2 separate regions of the Homo sapiens genome follow, and region 1 is linked to region 2. Evidence: promoter capture Hi-C in human tissues and cell types (Jung and others, 2019). All regions are on one chromosome and are shown on one strand. The core of a region is centred on a gene start or on the middle of the fragment in contact, and the rest is flanking DNA. Distances in the headings are between cores, read along the strand shown. Region 1 has its middle 5.0 kb from the start of ATF4. Region 2 holds the start of MGAT3 (beta-1,4-mannosyl-glycoprotein 4-beta-N-acetylglucosaminyltransferase).

Region 1 (2,700 bases), core at 166-2,665, 69 kb after region 2:
GATTTTGAGCAAAGAGGTAGAGCTGGGATTTGAACCCAGGACGGCTCCAGTCTGGGCTCTTCATTTTGCCTCTTGAGCTGGAAACAAATGGCCCGTAACGACCTGCATGGTGGGGCCCACGTGACCTTTCTGGTGCCCAGCATAGACTGTCACCTGAGAGCCAACTGTTGATGGAATGCATGCAGCTGGTTGTGGAGAAGTGGCCCGAGGCACCACTGGGAGTGGGCATCACACATGGGTCTTGGACCTGGTGCTCTTTGAGGTCTTTCCTGTTGAGATTCTAGAATTCTCCAAAGGCCATGGGCCTCCATCCACATCCAGGTACTAAATAGGTGTTAGGGTGTGGCCAGGAGCATCAGAGTCATCCAGTGCCAGTGGGGGTCGGCCCTCATTTGGCAGACGAGAAACTGAGGCACCAAGAAGGGCAGTGCAGGCCAGTGGTGTGGAGCCAGGATGCTGGGGCTGTGCCCTTCCCAGGCCCCTGCAGCTAAGTCCTCCCACACCCAGAAGGCACCAGCTCAGGTCACAGTGGATTTGCCCTTCTCCCTGACCTCACCTCCTCCCCTCACTGTGCTCCCGGCCTCTCTCCATCTGTCTGCCAAGCTTGGTCCTGCCTCAGAGCCTTGCACTTGCTGTTTTTTTGTAACTTTTTTCTCCATTGAGTTTATCTGTATACAGATGAACTTTCTGTTCTCCATTCCCTAACTACAATATAAGCTCACTCTATGGCAGCAGGTATTTTGCTGTCTTGTTCATTCCCGTATTTCCAGGACTTACAGCAGTGCCTGGGAAATAGCAAAAATGACTGCAGCGAAAATGTTCAAAGAGCTCTGAGGTTCTAGGCGCCTTCCAGTGATGAGCTCAGAGTCCTCCTGAGAGGCTGTGAGGAGGGTCTTATGACTGTAACCCTCTTACTGATGCAGCTAAGACCCAGACTTAGGCACCCCCTTGGGAAGTCTGGCCTATGGGTGGACACTGGCCCATGGGCAGGTGGTATAGGCAGTGATAGTGGCCTGGACAGACCGGCTGGATTTGGCTAGGCAGATATCTGTTCCGGAGAGCCCAGCACAATAAGGGGTACGGGAAGAGGGGGCAGAGATGAAGTTGATGTCTGGCCACCACCCTGCATGTGGCAACTTGTGGCCCCTGCCAGGCCTTGGCCAGCCCAGCCTAGGCTGACCAGGTCAGAGGTGGAGCTGGGCTTTACCCAGTGACCAGGGGCCCGGGGCTGGGGGATAGGAAGGGACCTCACAGGCGGGAGCAGACAGCACTCAGCATTTTCTCCTGCTTTGTGTCTGGGACAAGGCTGTAGGTTGTGGAGAGCAGAGAACGACCTTCATCTTTTCTACAACTAGTCCTGAGTGGGTGCCTGCTCTGCACTACACTGTCTGGGTGCTGGCTACAGCAGTGAGCCAAATAGATAAACATCCCTGCCCTCATGGAGCTTTGCTTCTGGTAAAGGAGACAGGTGGACCCTAAAAAGAAGAAAGAGGTGACGTGTCACATTCAGATGTGACACAGCAGCTGGGTAGGGCTTGGACATGCTGGGCATGCTCCTTAAGACTGGTGCTTAGGGAGTTGCAGGGGTCAGCCCGGCAGGGGACTGGGCTGGGATTGGCAAGGAGAGGCGGCCAGGATATGGGTGTGAAGAGAGGGAACCCCCCCGCTGCCAAACAAGAGAAAGGATGGAGGGCCCATTTCCTGAGATGGGGAAAACCATGGGAAGAGCATGATTTTATTTCAAAGAGGCCAGGGAGAAATAAAAAGTCCCTGGCTTTGGGAGGCCAAGGCAGGTGGATCACAAGGTCAGGAGTTCAAGAACAGCCTGCCCAATATGGTGAAACCCCTATCTCTACTAAAAAATTAGCTGGGCATGGCGGCACGTGCCTGTAATCCCAGCTACTCGGGAGGCTGAGGCAGGAGAATCGTTTGAACCCAGGAGGCAGAGGTTGCAGTGAGCCAAGATCACGCCACTGCACTCCAACCTGAGTGACAGAGTAAGACTCCCATCTCAAAAAAAAAAAAGAAAAAAGAAAAAGCCCTTGCAGTGACACTCAAGTGCCAACCACCCTTGCCCAGGTGCCCCATGAGGTGGGGTGGGGGCTCTCAGCCTAGTTGGGAAACGGAAGGTGGATGCTTAGACCAAGTAGAAAGTGGCAGCTTCAGAAGAGAGAGCAGGGCCTCCCAGCTGGGCTTTGAGGGGTGGGGAGAGTTGTGGACAGAGAATGAGAACACCCCATGAAAGTCAGCCGGGCAGGCTGGGCGCGGTGGCTCACGCCTGTAATCCCAGCACTTTTGGAGGCCGAGGTGGGCGGATCACGAGGTCAGGAGATCGAGACCATCCTGGCTAACATGGTGAAACCCCGTCTCTACTAAAAATACAAAAAAAATTAGGTGTGGTGGTGGGTGCCTGTGGTCCCAGCTACTCAGGAGGCTGAGGCAGGAGAATGGCTTGAACCCAGGAGGCGGAGCTTGCAGTGAGCTGAGATGGCGCCACTGCACTCCAGCCTGGGGGACAGAGCGAAACTCCGTCTCAAAAAAAAAAAAAAAAAAAAAAAAGTCAGCCTGGCAGGAAAGAATGGGGCACACACCAAGTGCCACAGTCCCACTGCCTGTGGCGGAGGCCTTTGCCCAGGCTAAGCTCTGAGCCTGCAGCTGGGCCTCAGCAGAGTCCCATGTTGCAGTCCTGGCCCACTCCTG
Region 2 (2,700 bases), core at 192-2,691:
GGCCCATGGAGATGTTATAATGGAATGTGCTTAGAGTGATAGGAACTAGGAATGGATCTTACACTTTCAAATGGTTGGGAAAACATCAAAAAATGTTTCTGGACACGTGAAAATGACACGAAATTCAAATTTTTGTGTCCATAAAGTTTTATTGGAACACCGCCAGGCTCATTCTTTTACGTATTGTCTATGGTTGATTTTATGCTACGATGGCAGAGTTGAGTAGTTGGGACAGAGACCATATGGCTGGCAAAGCCTAAAAGATTTACAATCAATCTCTTAAAGCAAATGGTTTGCCCACCCTTGCTTAGAGAGAGCCTCCAGGAAGAAAAGAGCAGTGAGGGTGACGTTGAAGAAGGGGGCAAGACTAGGTCACCAGGGGCTCCCTGTGCCCCGCCCAGGCACTGAACTTAAGCTGAGGGCAAGTGGGAGCCATTGAAGGTGCAGGCAGGAGAGTGACCTGCTCAAGTGAATGTTGGAGTAGGATCACTCTGCCTCCTCAGCAAGGATGGATGAAGCTGGGCACGGAGGCACCTGGAGCAGGTAGACCAGCCCTAGGCAGCCCGGATGGTTCAGCAAAGGCCTCTGGGACTATTCTGGAGCACATTCGCTGGGATATAGAATAGGTAGCGCATCCCTGCACCTTCGACGATGGCGGCGCAGAGATGTCTGCTGCGTACCCACAATGCCTTGTGCCTCGCACCGCGGGAGGAAGTGGCTGCTCTGTAGGCCCCAGAACGGAACCACTTGAAAGGCGGGAAACACGTGGGGGACGCCTCTGAGCCCTGAGAGGAATGGCCTAGAGCAAGGCCACGAGGAGCCAGGGCACGACACGGTGGGCCCTCGGAGAACCGCTGGTGGGCAAGTGGCAGGAGAGTAGGCTCAAGAGGGTTGGCAGGGCCGACCGGGCCTAGGGTGGCCGGGTGAGGGGGGCGGGGGAGGGGAGGCCCCCCCAGTTACCCCAGGAGTGCGCAGGTGGCTTCGGGCATGTGAGGGACGGAGGGGGTCGGACGGAAGGACACAGGCCGGTGTACAGCGGTCACCCACGCCCCAAGCAGACACACAGACTCTGCAGACACCGTAACAGGCCCGGCACCGTGCACACATCACAGGCCCAGGCCTCTGCACATGGTCACAGATGCCTATGCGAAATCCCGGCCCAGGTTCACGCGGGCACAGGCGCATCCACGCACACACCGCAACACGGATCTGCACGTCCATGCACACACAGGCACAGACTCGGGCACACGGAGTCACACCGACCCGGGCACGCTGCGGAACGCACCCGTCCACGCATACACAGAACGGGACTTGCTGCCCCGCACGCACACCAGGCCCGCACTCCGAACTACCCGCATTCCCCGCACACGCCCCCGCGCAGGCCGCCCCGGGCCGTGGGCCGGCGCACGCACGGTCACAGGAGGGGCGCGCGCACACTCGCACTCACACACACTCGCTCGCACACGCACACACTCGATCCAGCACGCGCGGGCGGCGCGGGGCGGCGGCGGCCGGAGTCTGCGGTGCGAGGCGCCCCCGGCCCGGCGCGGCGGCGGAGCCCGGCTGGCGGGGGAGGGGAGGGGGTTGCGGAGGGGGCGGGGTGGGGGCCGGAGCCGCTTGAGCCGGCGGGAGCGGGCACCCCTGCGCGCCGCGCTCGGCCTCGCCTCCGCGCCCCCCGCGCGCCCGCCGCGGTCCCTCCCCCGCGCCCGTCCGCTCGCCGGGCCCCCGCCGCCGCCCCGGGGTGCAGCCGAGCGGCCGCGCCGGGTCCCCGGGACGGGGTGGAAGTGGGGGTGGGGGGAGGGGATCGGGGCCGGGCCGGGGCCGCGCTGCCTGCGATGCCGGGCGCCCGCCGCAGCCGCTGCCGCCGGAGCCCGGGATGGGGCGAGAGGCTGCGGCGGACGCCAGCATCTCCCCGCCGGGGACCCCGGGGGCCGCGGAGCCGCCGCCGCCGCTGCTGCCGCCGTTGCTGAGACCCAGCGGGCGATGGGTGAGTTGACCCCGGCGTCCTGGGGGGCGCCGCGGCCCCTCTATCCCCGCGCTGCCCGCCCTCCCGCGCTGCGCTTGGCGCCCCCCGCCCGGCTCCGCGGCCCACTCCCCGAGCGTGACCTTAGGGGGCGGGCGCGGGCGCACTGGGGCTGGGGGCCCGGAGGCCGCGGTGGGGGCGGGATGCCGGGGAAGCCGCTCGGCGCGGGCCCCCTCCCCCTACCCGCCGCTCCTCCGAGCTCCCCGGTCCCCGGAGGGCAGAGCCTCAGCGCCCGACCCCCTCCCACGGCCGGGCGGGGGACGTCCCCGAGGCGCGGGGCTCGAGCCGTGCTTTGTGCGCGGCACCCCCCAGCCTCCGGCGCGGCTCCCCCACAACCTCCGGCGCGGCGCGGGGCTGGGGTGGGAGGCCTCCGCGCCCGCCTTCCCCACCCCCGACCCCAGACTGCGGCGGCGGCAGCCGAGGCCCAAGCGCAGTCGGGGGCTGGGCGGGTGCGGGGGCTGCGGCCGTAGCTACCCCTGGGGACCAGGCAGAGGCAAATGTGGAGAGGGCCCCCGGCCATTTACCGGGGTGGGGGCCCCCGGCTCCTTGCATTGCTCTGCCCAGGGCGGGGGAGGGAACCTGGCTGAGGGAGGGCGCTATAAATATCTGCAAATAGTGAGTTCTGGAACCGGGAGTGGGGAGGGGAGTGCGCCTGGGTGTGTGTATGGTGGGGTTCC

The links. Contacts are between HindIII fragments. The study calls those that stand out against the background at their distance.
Region 1: a contact is called between a fragment that was not itself captured here and the fragment with the promoter of MGAT3 in region 2, in 4 of the 25 tissues and cell types used here (H1 embryonic stem cells, IMR-90 fibroblasts, dorsolateral prefrontal cortex and 1 more).

The regions. Positions count from the first base shown.
Region 1 is chr22:39,524,176-39,526,875 of GRCh38, forward strand. No RefSeq gene overlaps it. Among named protein-coding and RNA genes, the nearest start is that of ATF4, 5.0 kb to the left of the region's middle. RefSeq lists enhancers at 246-295, 396-445. The HindIII fragment of the contact is 7,295 bases long and covers 1-2,700 here.
Region 2 is chr22:39,455,571-39,458,270 of GRCh38, forward strand. MGAT3 (beta-1,4-mannosyl-glycoprotein 4-beta-N-acetylglucosaminyltransferase) reads left to right here and starts at 1,442. Exons shown (of 2, transcript NM_002409.5): 1 at 1,442-1,987. RefSeq lists silencers at 1,368-1,427, 2,158-2,427, 2,438-2,567. The HindIII fragment of the contact is 12,980 bases long and covers 1-2,700 here.